Linked DNA regions of Homo sapiens: all the other regions are linked to region 5. The links are contacts of gene promoters, found by promoter capture Hi-C in human tissues and cell types (Jung and others, 2019). All regions are on one chromosome and are shown on one strand. The core of a region is centred on a gene start or on the middle of the fragment in contact, and the rest is flanking DNA. Distances in the headings are between cores, read along the strand shown. Region 1 overlaps PDS5A (PDS5 cohesin associated factor A). Region 2 overlaps RFC1 (replication factor C subunit 1). Region 3 overlaps RFC1 (replication factor C subunit 1). Region 4 overlaps PDS5A (PDS5 cohesin associated factor A). Region 5 holds the start of SMIM14 (small integral membrane protein 14).

Region 1 (3,181 bases), core at 418-2,917, 270 kb after region 5:
TTATGGAGTTAAAATCTGAGAGCTTAATATTATGCTACAAAGTAAAAAATATTCAAAACACACAAAATCAGTTTGAAGAATAAGTTTATAGGAGATTCCAGGCACGGTGGCTGACACCTGTAATCACTGCACTTTGGGAGGCGGAGACAGGTGGATTGCTTGTGGCCAGGAGTTTAAGACCAGCCTTGAACACATGGCAAAACCCTGTCTCTACAAAATATACAAAAATTAGGCAGGCATGGTAGCATGCCTCTGTAGTCCCAGCTATTACTCAGGAAGCTGAGGTGGGTGGATTGCTTGCACTCAGGAGTTCAAGATCAGCCTTGAAAACACAGCACAGCCCTGTCTCTACAAAAAAACACAAAAATCAGCCGGGCGTGGAGGCATTCCCCTGTAGTCCCAGCTACTTGGGAGGGTGAGGTGGAAGGACTGCTTGAGCCCAGGAGGTCGAGGCTGCAGTAAGCCATAATTGTGCCACTGCACTCCAACCTGGGTAACAGACCCTGTCTCAAAACAAAACAAGACGAAAGGTTTATATGAGACAAACACTGGGAAACTTGAGGTAGAGAGCAAACCATATATAAGGGGCAAATCCAGAAGTTCAAAGATGAGTGCAGAAAATGTGTTACTAGCTCAGGCATGGTGGTGGGTGCCTGTAATACCAGCTACTCAGGAGGCCGAGGCAGGAGAATTGCTTGAACCCGCCAGGCAGAGGTTGCAGTGAGCAGAGATCACGTCACTGCACTCCAGCCTGGGCGATGAAGTAAGACTCCGTCTCAAAAAAAAAAAAAAAATTTGTGTTGCACTGTCTCACCACTTAAGTTTCTTTTGGCCAGCACCAACTTGTATTACAGTGCTCTTTTAAAGGTCTAGTATACGTTAAGAATTCAATTAACATACAACACAATATGTAGACTCAAAAATGCACATGTTGGCCGGGCGCGGTGGCTCACACCTGCAATCTCAGCACTTTGGGAGGCCGAGGCGGGCAAATCACGAGGTCGGGAGATCAAGACCATCCTGGCTAACACGGTGAAACCCTGTCTCTACTAAAAATACAAAAAATTAGCCGGGCGCACTGGCGGGCGCCTGTAGTCCCAGCTGTTTGGGAGGCTGAGGCAGGAGAATGGCATGAACCCGGGAGGCGAAGCTTGCAGTGAGCAGAGATCGCGCCACTGCACTCCAGCCTGGGCGACAGAGTGAGACTCCGTCTCAATTAAAAAAAAAAAAAAAAAAAATGCACATGTTAAGGATAAGGTAAGGAACCCTCAAATTTAAAACAGATTATTAGGCAACTTTTAAAATATACTGATTAATGATAAATAATGTGATCTGAAATAGCTGGAAGTATTTTTATTTTTGAAATGATCTCATAAAAAAACCAAGTAAACAAAAATTGTTTAATAAACGTCTTAATGTCTATGGCCTCCCACTTTCTTACCCAGATAAAATTTTCATGTGTTAATAAAATACTGCATTTAGGATTTGTAATTCTCTGGCTGGCAGAGAAAAATTATACATTATTAATGATCAAGTAATTACAAAGTATCAAAACACTTAACGCTATAATTATGGAAAATAATACTGCAGACTGTGACTTGTTTCTATGAATCAGAGACACCACTACAGTTAGCAGTGAGTGTAAAATAATGAGTGTCAGAAACTTATATTGGGTGATTTCATTTTTAAAAGTAACCAAAGTGAAAAATGAAGCCTTGCGTTTTTGCTTAAATGATTTACAAAAAATATTTGATGTCCATCCTGGGATAGGGAATTCCTCCCCCATAACTTTGAAAGTGCAGTTGCTTCATTCCCACCATTCAAAATTCTCATGGAGTCACATTTAGTTATTCAACTATTTAGCATTTATTCCTATAAGACCTTCAAAATGGCGTGTTCTGGGCAAGTAACTGCTAAGATAGCAGTAGGCCTTGTCAGCGATTTCTCAGAACCTAGGATTAGTATGAGAACTATTATGGTGAATTTACATCAAGAAAAATTCTGGCACCAACTACTGAATCAGTTGAACTAAAACAACGGAGAATCTCGAACATCTCCAGAATATTAATAGTAAATATCTACTTTCCAATCAGCTTTTAAAGCAAAACAGGTAAATGGAATGCAAGGAGAAATTTAATGAATTTCATAAATTTGTCAACACTACTATCAAGCCAAATAGAATTTAGTCATTCTAAGCTCTTGAGAAGAAACATTAAAAACTATCTGAGTTAATGGCAATCATATTTTCCACTTAAAAATCATACAATTATACCAAATTAGTTAAAACACACCATACAATGTGTTCAGATAAGTTACAGACCCAAACGACAAGCACTAGTAAATGAAAAAGTTGGTAGGCTGACAAATGGCACAGGTTCTTAAATTTGGATCAGTATGTATTCAGTTTCATGATTTAAAGATCTTAAGACTTAGAATATACTGCAATGCTGTTTATTTATTCTAATGACTTTCTTTTTTTTTTTTTTTAGACAGAGTCTCACTCTGTCACTCCGGCTGGAATGCAGTGGCTTGAACTCAACTCAGTACAAACTCTGCCTCCCGGGTTCAAGGATTCTCCCGCCTCAGCCTCTTGCGTAGTTGCGGTTCCAGGTGCCGGTCACCACCCCTGGTTAATTTTTGTATTTTTAGTAGAGACACCATGTTGGTCAGGCTGGTCTCCTGAACTCCTGACCTCAAGTGATCCGCCCACCTCAGCCTCCCAAAGTGCTGGGATTACAGGCATGAGCCACCACGGCTGGCCATGACATTATTTTAACACAAAGAAGTTAAAAAGAGTTACACAGATAAAATACTAAGCTTTCTTCATAAAAAATTTTTCATACAATTTATTCCATAAGAAGGATGGAAACACAGATGACAATGAAACCAACATCTATTAATGAAAGTTTTGATATGTATAGTTTTAATCAAGTGGACTGCACCCTACTGACTATTTTCTAAAATATAAACATCAGAATTATATGTTCTCTTACCGTCCAAGAAAACATTGCCAAAGAGGACGATTCTGTGTTGCCAAATCAGAATCTTTGGAGCCAAACAATTTAGCTAGAAGTCGAACAACAGCTAATCGCTCTTCTCCATCATTGCTCTAAGAAGGGAAAACAGAAAGTGAAGCCTAAGCTTTATTCACCAGATTACAGAAAATATCTTGAAACATTCT
Region 2 (3,018 bases), core at 14-2,513, 280 kb before region 5:
GACCATCCTGGCCGACATGGTGAAACCCCATCTCTACTAAAAATACAAAAATTAGCTGGGCATGGTGGCACACACCTGTAGTCCCAGCTACTTGGGAAGCTGAGGCAGGAAAACCGCTTGAACCCGGGAGGTGGAGGCTGCAGTGAGCCGAGATCATGCCACTGCACTCCAGCCTGGTGACAGAGCGAGACTTCACCTCAAAAAAAAAAAAAAAAAACACTGGTATAACCTTTATGGAAGGCAATCTAGCCACACTTACCAAAATTTTAAAGGTACATACCCTTTGCCCAGTAATTTCATTTCTAAAAGAAATGGTAGGCAGGGCGTGATGGCTCACACCTGTAATCCCAGCACTTTGGGAGGCCGAGGCGGGTGGATTACGAGGTCAGGAGTTCCAGACTGGCCTGGCCAACATGGCAAAACCCCATCTCTACTAAAAATACAAAAATTAGCCGAGCTTGGTGGTACGTGCCTGTAATCCCAGCTACTCAGGAGGCTGAGGCAGGAGAACGGCTTGAGCCCGGGAAGTGGAGGGTGCAGTGGACCAAGATCACGCCACTGCACTCCAGCCTGGGGAAAAAGTGCAAAACTCCGTCTTAAAAACAAAAAAATTCATTGAACACATGAACGGTTATTCCTCAGGCCACTGACCTTCACAACTGCACTCAGAAAGAGAGGTTCTTGATTATGTAAACCAAAATAAATGGTAGATTTGTTTTTAAAGATTATGTATTAAAAGAATCTTTTAATTGGGATTAACTTTGTGCTATGACTTTACCTAAGAAATTTTAAGAAGGTATTAAATTAATGCTGATTATATATTATTTCTGAGCTAAGTTAATAAAACTGAGTTTCTATAATTGATTTTCTGTTACTCTCATATTAAAACATTGTGGCTACAAAAAACAAAAATATACTTTCACTTTTAGTAGGACATTTCCTCTTCTTTAAAATTTATTTTAAGTCAAACTAATAACTTTTTTAAAGAAATCAGAAATATCTCTAGATTTATAATTGATGTTACTAATTTAACAGTCTAGCATGGGTCTCAAAAACTTCTCTGAGGAAAACACTGGTGAGTGAAATATAAGTGTGGTCTGAAAAACTTTTGAACAGTAACAAGTTCTAGCTAGGAAGAATTTTAAGAGCCCGCATCAACTTTTTTCATTCAATCATTCATTTATCCATTCAAGAAATATTTACTCAGAGCCTTTTATGGACCAAGAACTATTTTTGATGCTTGGGATAAACAAAACAGGCTAGGTCTCTGTTCTTGTGAAGCTTTCATTCTACTTTCTGTTCCTAATCTTTCTTTAATCCATCTTTAGAAAACAAAGCAGAGCACAGAAAAGAAAGAACAGAAGAAATAAAGCACACTGAGGGAACAGAAATAGAGAATAGAAACTACTTCCCCTACTCACCCCAGTATCTGTTAAGTCTACCTGAGAGGCCACTCCCATGACAGCAAAAAGACCCATTTCTACTGCTGTTGTGGCAAGAGGGAAGAATAAGATTCTGAAGTCATAATATTTACTATCATTGAGCTTTAGACTACGCATTCAATGAAATACTCTATCACAGAAGTTTCCAGGTACCTGATCCAAAAATACAAATCAACACAGGCATATTAAAATAGCAAATGGAAATAATTATCTAATTTAAGTTTAAAAAGCATCTTTTCATACCTGCATAACTGGGATAACTAAAGCATTTGAGACTGTTTATGCCTGATCTAATGGTTTATTTCAGAATTTTGACATTTTCACCAGGGCTAATGTACTCCGATTATGGTTTTTATTCATCCAGGAGCTAACTTTTTTTTTTTTTTCCCTTGAGACAGAGTCTTGCACTGTCGCCCAGGCTGGAGTGCAGTGGGGCGATTTCAGCTCACTGCAACCTCCAACTCCCAGGTTCATGCAGTTGTCCTGCCTCAGCCTCCCAAGTAGCTGGGATTACAGGTGCCCATCACCATACCCAGCTAATTTTTCTGTATTTTTAGTAGGGACAGGGTTTCACTATGTTGGCCAGGCTGGTCTCAAACTCCTGACCTCATGATCCACCTCCCAAAGTGCCAGGATTACAGGCATGAGCCACAGCGCCCGGCCCAGAAGCTAGCTTTTTACAACTGACTTCTGAGCCAAAAAAATCAAATTTAAACTACTTAAATGAACACAGAAATAAAGTCCAACTGGGCCAAGCGCAGTGGCTCACACCTGTAATCCCAGCACTTTGGGAGGCCAAGGCGGGTGGATCACCTGAGGTTGGGAGTTCGAGACCAGCCTGACCAACATGGAGAAACCCTGTCTCTACTTAAAAATACAAAAATAGCCAGGCATGGTGGTGCACACCTGTAATCCCAGCTACTAGGGAGGCTGAGACAGGAGAATCACTTCAACCTGGGAGGCAGAGGTTGCAGTGAGCTGAGATCGCACCATTGCACTCCAGCCTGGCCAAGAGCAAAATTCCGTTTCAAAAAAAAAGAAATTAAGTCCAAACTGAAAATAGACCTACAACATAATAAAATAACTGTATTTCTCTAGGCAATATTATTTGTCGCTAAGTGTTTTAATAGCTTAGATATAAAGTCATGCAACAGTGCGAGAGATGTTTTTATACCAGGAAGTTTTACCTTCTAGTTTATTTGTATTTTTAGTGGAAATATAAAGTTCACTTGTAATTATTCATTCCTCTAATATTTGTGGAAAACGCACCGTGAGCCACGCGCTATATGGCAGTTCCCTCTCCTTGTGACCCCTGCCCTTACAGAGCTTATATGCTAGTGAAGGAAGTTGTCAACACCTGCAACAAGTTGCTCATTTATTAAAATAAGCCAAAATGTGTGCCAAGGAAACAAAGCAGGTGCTCTCCCACTAATCATGCCAATTGTTTTTATGCTTTTGTGGATGAAAGCTACACATATTTTCCACGGAAATACGAAAAAACAAACATATGCACAAAACTTTGTATCCAATGTTAGGGGTTTTCCCCTAAAGCCTATTGGGAACCCCAAGTCAAAAC
Region 3 (2,882 bases), core at 151-2,650, 310 kb before region 5:
TAATACTTGACAGCTGACCAGCTATACCCAGTATATGTTAAATTTCTTATCTTATTAAATTTTATAATGTTTATTTGCTTTAAGTTCAACAATTGTACTTCTGGGCAAGAGGGAGTCCCTTAATGGAGAAAGAACAAACTTAAATTGTCTCTGAAATGATGGTGCTCTACTAGTTTCCTACCACCTTAAAAATGCCTAAAATACTAACATTCCATTTCCACTACACTTAGCCGTGCTTATAAGCAGTATGACAGAAAACCCCATAGCTGAGTGGGTGAGATCAACTACTATGGAGAGCAGATTGTAACAGGGCAAGAAAAGGGGAAGACAAAAAGTAAATGACCACGTAGGCAAAGATGGCCTCAACAACCATAACAATGGCAGTACAAACAGAGAGATGTGAGTATTGTGTATAATATGGGAAAAAAAATAACCTAAATATCTATTAATATGTATACTCAACCATGTAACAAAATCTCTACAGCAATAAAAATTATAAAAAATATCTATATTTGCTCATAGAAATATATTCATATGTTTACTAGGTGGCAAAAGCAGATGACATAACAGTATGTTTAATGACACTGTTTATCTATAGCTATATACATAACTTTTAAATTCACATTCTAAAATCTGAAAAGAATCAATAAAACATTAACAATTTTTATCTCTGATTAGGGAAATATGGGTAATTTTTATGTTTTTTTCACACCTTTTGATATGGCTTGGCTGTGCCCTTAACCCAAATCTCATCCTGAATTCCCACATTATGGGAGGGATCCAGAGAAAGGTGAATGAATCATGGGGACAGGTCTTTCCTGCGCTGTTCTCGTGATAGTGAATAACTCTCATGAGATCTGATGGTTCTATAAAGGGCAGTTTCCCTGCACAAGCTCTCTTCTCTTGTCTGCCGACACTTGAGACGTGCCTTTCACCTTCCACCATGATTGTGAGGTCCCCAGCCATGTGGAACTGTAAGTCCAATAAACCTCTTTCTTTTATAAATTGCCCAGTTTTGGGTATGTCTTTATTAGCAGCATGAAATCGGACTAATACACCCTTTTCTCCGTCTAATGTTTTACAACAAATTGAATACATCCTAGAACTCTCTGACCCCTTAGCTTTCAGAGTCAGTGCTTTAGTTTCTACCTCCTCTCCACTCTTCTTTGCTTACTTCTGTTCATTATTTATCAGCACCTCTGCTATTCTGTTGCTGGCTTCACAGACTTCATGGTATCTTTTTATTTACTATTAATAAGTTTTTATTGAGCATTAAACTACATGCCAAGAACTTTATAATAAATTATCTTTAGTCAACTAGTCCTACCTCCTTATTCAATACATAGACCCCATTTTCTACATTTCTAACAAAAAAATAGACTAGACTTAAATACTTTCAAAATCGAGCAATGTTAATTCACCTTCTTTCTTTAGCAAATAGCAAAATACTATACTCCTTAGGAAAGTTTTTCCTTATATTAAGTCAAAATACTTCCCTGTGAATTCCACCTACTTTCCTTAATCTATCCGCTGAACAGGGAGAAAAAGTTTATCTACTTTTTCCACATTCAGCCTCTGAAGTCTGCCCTTATTTCTTCCTTACGTCCCCTTCTCTATAAATAGTAAAACAGTTTCAAGCCAATCAACATTTAGGTTACTGGGAAGATTAAATTTTTCTTGAAGGGCCGGACATGGTGGCCCACGCCTATAATCCCAGCACTTTGGGAGGCCAAGACGGAAGGATCACTTGAGCCCAGGAGTTCAAGACCAGCCTGGGCAAAAGAGCAAGACCCCATCTCTACAAATACAATAAGACAAAATTTTAGAGGCTAAGTGCCCAGTGTAGCACCTAGCCATGTTACAGCCATTCAATAAATAAAAGTAGTATTCTCTGGGAAAAACAGTGCTGAACCAGAAGTCTAGAAAACTAAAATTCTAACCTAAGTTTGACTTACTATTTTTAATTAACCATCTGGGTTTCACTGCGATCTTCTGTAAAATGTTGGACCAAACGAACTCTTAAGATTTTCCCCTTTACAATTTTATGACCCTATGGGTAGCCATATAGATTTTTTTAATATTATACACAATATTGGTAAAAATGTGATGAGTTTGTACTAATAAAAACACTAATTATAAAAGTGTAAATTAGTGTGACTTTTCTAGAAAGTAATTTGGTAGAACACACCAGAACCTTAAAGAAGTTCATATCCTTTAGCATAGTAACTCTTGGAGATAATCAGAGGTGATGACAAATATTTGCATATAAATTTAGTCTAGTCATCACACTATTAGGAACATGAAAAGTATAAGCAACTGAAATGCTGAAATCGGGGAAATTTTTATATAAATTATGGTCTAACTATACAATGGACTCATGAAGCCATCAAAAATTAAGCCCAAATTTCGAGGCTGAAAAAAAAAAACCTCATGAAAATAGCAAAACGGCTGTCAAAAAAACAAAATACATCACTCTGTTCTTTTATGTGCACCCTAATGTTATAGGTATAAACATCACCCCTAAAAGGGGAGGTTCTTGTTATGAGCCTCCTCTACCAGAGATCTCTTTACAATAGTGGAGGGTAACAGAGCCCTTCTCTGAATACATGAATTTAAATTGAACAATGTCTTCAAGCTATAGATTTAAAAAATGTACTATAGCTAAACACAGGCATAATTTTATAAACATTTTTATAATTTCTGAGAAAAATTTAATTACACATGGCTCTCCAAAGAAAAAATATGGGAGTGTTCTATAAGATACTTCAAGTATGTTTTCATTGTGTTAAACAAAAAGTGCAAATAAGGCTCCTTTTCTCTGTTAACTACAAAATAAACAGCTCTCTAGGCCCCTAGGAAGGTACGAGTAACTCTAGTAAAAC
Region 4 (2,969 bases), core at 63-2,562, 320 kb after region 5:
GCCTCGGCCTCCTGAGTAGCTGGGATTACGGGCATGTGCCACCACCCTCGGCTAATTTTTGTATTATTTTAGTAGAGGTGGGGTTTCACCATGATGGCCAGGCTGGTCTTGAACTCCTGACCTCAGGTGATCCACCCGCCTTGGCCTCTCAAAGTGCTGGGATTACAGGTGTTAGCCACCGTGCCCAGCCTGAAATACATTGTCAAGACATAAATAAGTACCCATTGTCAAGAGATAAGTAAAAAAAAAAAAAAAAAAAAAAAAAAACAGAAACAGAGGTGGACCAAACGCTAAAGCTATCAGACAGAGACGTTAAAATAACTATGAGGCCAGGCAGAGAGCCTCATGCCTGTTAATAGGCATGAACACTTTGGGAGGCTGAGGCAGGAGGATCACGTGAGTCCAGGAGTTTGAGACCTGGGCAACATGACAAACCCCGTGTCTACAAACAATACAAAAATTAGCTAGGCGTGGTAGCACATGCCTGTAGTCTCTACTACTTGGGAGGCTGAGATGGGAGGATGGCTTGAACCCAGGAGGTGGAGGCAGCAGTGAGCCATGATCATGAAACTGAACGCCAGCCAGCCTGGGTGACAGAGCGAGACCCTGTCACAAACAAAAAATATAAATAAATAAATAAAGCATGCTGATTATCATCAGGATTTAAAGTAAATCAGCACTTAGAGCTCACCCTGGCCAAACAAGAAAAGCCAAAATTAGGAATATTAAAGGACAATATGCTAAATCTAACTTAGAGTTTAAACCAAGAGCATTACATGAATAGAACATTTGGGATTTACCATGCTGAAAAATATACAAGGAAACAATACACGAATATGGACTTTGAGTGATAATGTTGTGATGTTGGTTTAGAAATATAGCACTCTAGGGCCGGGCGTGGTGGCTCAAACCTGTAATCCCAGCACTTTGGGAGGCTGAGGTGGGCAGATCACCTGAAATCAGGAGTTCGAGACCAGCCTGACCAACATGGTGAAACCCCGTCTCTACCAAAAATACAAAAAATTACCCAGGTGTCGTGGCGGATGCTTGTAATCCCAGCTTGGGAGGCTGAGGTGGGAGAACTGCTTGAACCCGGGGGAGCGGAGGTTGCAGTGAGCTGAGATCATGCTACTGTGCTCCAGCCCGGGTGACAGAGCGAGACTCTGTCATAAAAAAACAACAACAAAACAAACAAATGTACCACTCTGGAAGGTGACTGAGGGGAGGCATTACTGTGGGAGGCATGTGTGACTGGGGAGGGGAAGTCTTCCTGGGGGACGGGAGTGTTACTGAGGAGTGAGTCCAGGGGGTTTGTTGGGAATACTCTGTACATTCCAGCAATTTGGCTGTGAACCTAAAACTGCCCTAAAAAAAAAAGTCTGTTTAAAAATTTGAACAGTTAAGGCCGGTGTGGTGGTTCACACCTGTAATCACAGCACTTTGGGGGGCCAAGGCAGGTGGATTACCTGAGGTCAGGAGTTCGAGACCAGCCTGGCCAACATGGCGAAACCCCATCTCTACTAAAAATACAAAAATTAGCCAGACATGGTGGTGGCACACACCTGTAGTCCCAGCTGCTCGGGAGGCTGACGTGGGAGGATTGCTTGAACATGGGAGGCAGAGGTTGCAGTGAGCTGCGATCTCGCCACTGCACTCCAGCTTAAGAAACAGACTGAGACTGCCTCTCAAAAAAAAAAAAGAACAATTTTAAAAAACAGTATAAGAAAAACGTATAGAACAATTGAGATAGCAGCAGTGGATTACAGTATTAAACATTTGGCAGGGTGCGATGGCTCACACCTGTAATCCCAGCACTTTTGGGAGGCTATGGCAGGCAAATCACTTGAGATCAAGAGTTGGAGACTAGCCCGGCCAACATGCTGAAACCCTATGTTTACCAAAAAATACAAAAATTAGCCAGGTATGGTGGCTCATGCCTGTAGTCCCAGCTACTTGGGAGGCTGAGGTGGGAGGATCGCTTGAACCCAGGAGGCAGAAGTTGCAGTGAGCCAAGATTGCGCCACTGCACTCTAGCCTGGGTGACAGAGCGAGACTGTCTCAAAAAAAAAAAAAAAAAAAGTCTGATAAAATATCAAGGAAATATGAGAACTGAACACAGCAAACAAAGCTATACAACATTATTTCAAAAACATCTAAAGACAATTTTATTTTATTACTACCTGGTTTTTACCCTTTCTTCAAAGCTTTATAGGTATATGCTTCAAGAAGAAAGACAGATTTTCTTACTTTTTTTTTTTTGGAGACAGGTTCTCACTCTGTCACCCAGGCTGGAGTGCTGCGGCACAATTATGGTTCACTGTACACTTAATCTCCTTGGCTTAAACAATCCTCCTGCCTCAGCCTCCAGAGTGGGCAGGACTATAGGCGCCTGCACCACATCCAGCTAATTTTTGTATTTTTTGTAGAGAAGAGGTTTTGCCATGTTGCCCGCGCTAGTCTCAAACTCCTGGCCTCAAGTGATCTGCCTTGCCTCAGCCTCCCAAAGTGCTGGGATTACAGGCGTGAGCCACCTCACCCAGCCAAAAGACATTTTCTAAATAACTTCTGCCAGAAACAAAGTATTCTCTTTATCTACACTGACTCAATCTTCATGAATCTTAGGAAAAATTTTTATTCAATGATTTTCTTTTCACACACAAGGAATCCACCTCTACTTATTCTATAGTGGCTACGTGAGGGATATTCAATAAGCATTTGAAGTTATAGGATAATTATACATGGCCACAGAACTTAACCCAATTTTCAAGTATTAAACTTAACAAAATAAAATAATGGCATCAATTTACTATTAAGGTTTACTTAGGGCCAGCGTGGGGGCTCACACCACTGCACTCCAGCCTGGGGGACAAGGCGAGACTCCATCGCAAGAAAAAAAAGAAAAAGAAAAAGCATACACTAAGTGATTTTTTAAAATTCATATTATAATTAAGTACATAAAATGTTGCTAG
Region 5 (2,976 bases), core at 89-2,588:
TGCTGTTAACCACTGAAACACCTCAATTAATGAGTTCTCGGGGGTGAAGCGGTGTTCTTAAACACCACGTTGGAAAAAAAAAAAAAGTTAGGACAAAAAGGTTTGGTTTTCTGGTCGCAGTGCTGTCGACGGCCGCGGAGAGCGGCAAGTTCGGAGCAGGCTACACTAAAGGAATCTGCGCGGCCAGCCACCCTAAGTGGAAGGGAATGCAAAGCCTCCTGCAACCTCCACAGCGCTGGGCAGCAAGAATGCCTCCTAAGCGTCCCAACACTCCAACACCTGGAAGGTCTTACGCTTTCCAAGTTATAATATGTACAGCTGCTGTTTCTGACAATAACACACACAAACTGGAAGGTCTCTTCTGCAAATGTAGCTATTACGTGTGTGAAGCTCATCCGACTCTCTCGATGCAAAAGTAACACATTCTATTAAGGCCACAGCCTCGGTTTTGCCAACTGGGGCAACTGAAAACATCCTACCGACTCTCTACAGCTAGCAAACCATCTCGGCTAAAATCCTGGCACATATAAACAGCCACTTTGGTGAAGTCTGCCTTTAAACAGCAACACGGGACTTCGGGTAGAGCCGGTAACCAGTTTATCACACACTATTAGTTCCAATAAAGGGTGCTGCTACCTCTTTACTGTCAGCCTTGGTTCCACTTACTGAGCAAACAGAAAAAGGGGATCCTTTAAATTCGCGACACAATAGGAGCTAAAAAGCTCTCGCTTTCAGGGTGTCAGCTTTCTCGTCTCACTTATCACAACAAAGGACGCATCCTAGTGACTTCACCGTACCCAGAAAGGGCTGAGGGAGACGGTAAACAAGATAGTGTGGATTTCAGGATTTGTGAGTTTTTCCTTCCAGCTACGACTCTCTTTTTACTCCATGATACGCCTCCACCCGTCGACAATCTGATCCTAAAAATAAAACCACCCGTGGCTACCTTGCCCTTGCCTGCAAAGCCCCGACTCTGACATCCTGCAGAGAATACCCAATTGCAGGCTCTTCGCGGGGGACGCGGGCTCGGCAGCAGCGGAGCTTCTCCCGGTGCAGAATCGCCAGCCCGGCCGAGGAAACGCCAAGCCCGAGAAACAGCCCTGTTCTGCCGCAGCCGCCGCAGTCCCCGAGAGCCTGAGGAGCCCCCAGGAAAAACTGGGGCGAGGGGAGGGTGAGCCAGCAAACGCTGGTGGGAGAGGGGGAGACACTCACCCGCCCAGACAACAACCGATGGGGCGGGGAGGATGGGGGCCGGGACCGAGGCTCGGCAGAAAGACCGCCTGGAGCTTCCAGAAGGCTGCGGCTGCTCCGGACGCTGCTGCCACTGCCGTTTCTGGCCGCCGGCTTCCTCCCCCTCCTCTGTTTTGATTCGAGTGACCACGTCACTCTTAGCCACAAGACCCGGATCTGCCGGCTCCCGCGGGCGGCGGCGCAACAGATTGCAGCGCCTGGAGACTCCAGCTGCCCCGCCTGCCGAGCATGCGCATGCCCAGCGCCTGCCCTGTGCGTCCCGGGAAGCCGGGCGGGAGCCTGCGGCTTCGGACGCCTACGACACGCTGTGCGTGGGGGCGCGGAGTGCGGGGGATGTAGTTCCGGTTGGGAGGGGCGTGGCTGAGGACTGTGAAGCAATCGGGGCGAGGCCGGGTGTCTGTTCAACTCTCCCGCGTATCGTCTGTTTCTTCGGCGGCGGACAGTGTTCTGTAATGTGTCTCCCGTTGCCCGAGCTAAAGGTTTTCCTCGACGGAGTCTTTAGAATACCGTGGTAGAGGTAGACGCGGTTACAAATTGATGTCTGTTGAGACAGTCTACCCCTGTAAAGTGTTTTTGGTTACTCAGGCCCGGATGGAAATTGGAGATGGGGATTACAAAAATACATCAAATGTGGCTGTTATTGATTCCCTTTACCTTAACATTTTTGCACCGGAAACGACCAAAATTAAGTTCAACAGGAATATTAATAAAAGGAATATGTAGTCGGGCTTGGTGACTCATGCCTGTAATCCCAGCACTTCAGGAGGCAGAGGTGGGCGGATCACTTGAGGTCAGGAGTCCGAGACCAGCCTGGCCGACATGGTGAAACCCCATCTCCACTAAAAACACAAAAATTAGCCGGGCATGGTGGTGCCCGCTTGTAGTCCCAGCTACTCGGGAGGCTGAGGTGGAAGAATCGCTTGAACCCGGGAGGCGGAGGTTGCAGTGAGCCGAGATCGCGCCACTGCACTCCAGCCTGGGTGATAGTGAGACTTTGTCTCAAACTAAATAATTAAAGATATGTGACCAAAGATGACTTGCTGGTCAGGAGATAATGGGGAAGTAGGAGGGAATGCTGTGGCTAGGCAGCCAGCCAGCCCAAGTCTTAGTTGCTTTGGTTGTAGAGCTGGAATAAGAGTGCTGCTTTTACCCAATCTTCCTTTTAGAGCAAGTTGGTGCTTCCTATTCTCCCATTCTAGTCTCTGAGTCTCCCCGCTAAATTTTGGGGGCCCTGGAAATTTCCCAATTTGGCAAAATGCAGAACTATATTGTTTTCTTAGGTCCTTCAGTTGGCAAGCTTTAATTAAAATGGGACAAGTGGCGAAGTAAAAGTGAATCCCAAACAAAGATTTTACGAAAGTGCCTCTCTGCCAGTCTTGACGGAGAGGTGAAAGCTGCAAGCTTTCTTACTCAGATTTGATGACCTTTTCACTTACCCAGACTTCCACCTCAGCAATTTGGTTAATTACCCCTCGACAAGCTGAATCACCTTCCCCAAATAAGTATCATTTACAAGAGCTTTTTAATTAAAGTGGATATTGAACACAGGTAAAGGTTTCTAGAAAATTAAAGGTTTCTGGTAAAACTTGAAGTGTTTCCCAGTTAACTAATTGCAAAGTAGATACAAAGAATAAAGATTTTGGCCCTTAATCTGCAACCTTGAACTCTGCTTACTCAAATTCAGAGTTTGAGATGGAATCTGGTGCCCTAATGAGCTGACACTGT

The links. The method cuts DNA at HindIII sites, captures the fragments that hold promoters and counts their contacts. A contact is called where the count stands out against the background at its distance.
Region 1: a contact is called between a fragment that was not itself captured here and the fragment with the promoter of SMIM14 in region 5, in 1 of the 25 tissues and cell types used here (lymphoblastoid cells).
Region 2: a contact is called between a fragment that was not itself captured here and the fragment with the promoter of SMIM14 in region 5, in 1 of the 25 tissues and cell types used here (hippocampus).
Region 3: a contact is called between a fragment that was not itself captured here and the fragment with the promoter of SMIM14 in region 5, in 1 of the 25 tissues and cell types used here (hippocampus).
Region 4: a contact is called between a fragment that was not itself captured here and the fragment with the promoter of SMIM14 in region 5, in 1 of the 25 tissues and cell types used here (aorta).

The regions. Positions count from the first base shown.
Region 1 is chr4:39,910,618-39,913,798 of GRCh38, forward strand. PDS5A (PDS5 cohesin associated factor A) reads right to left here. Exons shown (of 33, transcript NM_001100399.2): 9 at 2,994-3,109. Among named protein-coding and RNA genes, the nearest start is that of PDS5A, 66 kb to the right of the region's middle. The HindIII fragment of the contact is 3,276 bases long and covers 30-3,181 here.
Region 2 is chr4:39,355,802-39,358,819 of GRCh38, forward strand. The region is part of intron 1 of RFC1 (replication factor C subunit 1); the gene reads right to left. Among named protein-coding and RNA genes, the nearest start is that of RFC1, 9.1 kb to the right of the region's middle. The HindIII fragment of the contact is 7,671 bases long and covers 1-3,018 here.
Region 3 is chr4:39,331,153-39,334,034 of GRCh38, forward strand. The region is part of intron 4 of RFC1 (replication factor C subunit 1); the gene reads right to left. Among named protein-coding and RNA genes, the nearest start is that of RFC1, 34 kb to the right of the region's middle. The HindIII fragment of the contact is 5,172 bases long and covers 1-2,882 here.
Region 4 is chr4:39,954,431-39,957,399 of GRCh38, forward strand. All of the region lies in intron 2 of PDS5A (PDS5 cohesin associated factor A), which reads right to left. Among named protein-coding and RNA genes, the nearest start is that of PDS5A, 22 kb to the right of the region's middle. The HindIII fragment of the contact is 7,115 bases long and covers 1-2,969 here.
Region 5 is chr4:39,637,527-39,640,502 of GRCh38, forward strand. It overlaps SMIM14 (small integral membrane protein 14), which reads right to left and starts at 1,339. Exons shown (of 5, transcript NM_174921.3): 1 at 1,213-1,339. SMIM14-DT (SMIM14 divergent transcript) reads left to right here and starts at 1,614. Exons shown (of 6, transcript NR_183845.1): 1 at 1,614-1,768. RefSeq lists an enhancer at 1,281-1,998. The HindIII fragment of the contact is 11,439 bases long and covers 1-2,976 here.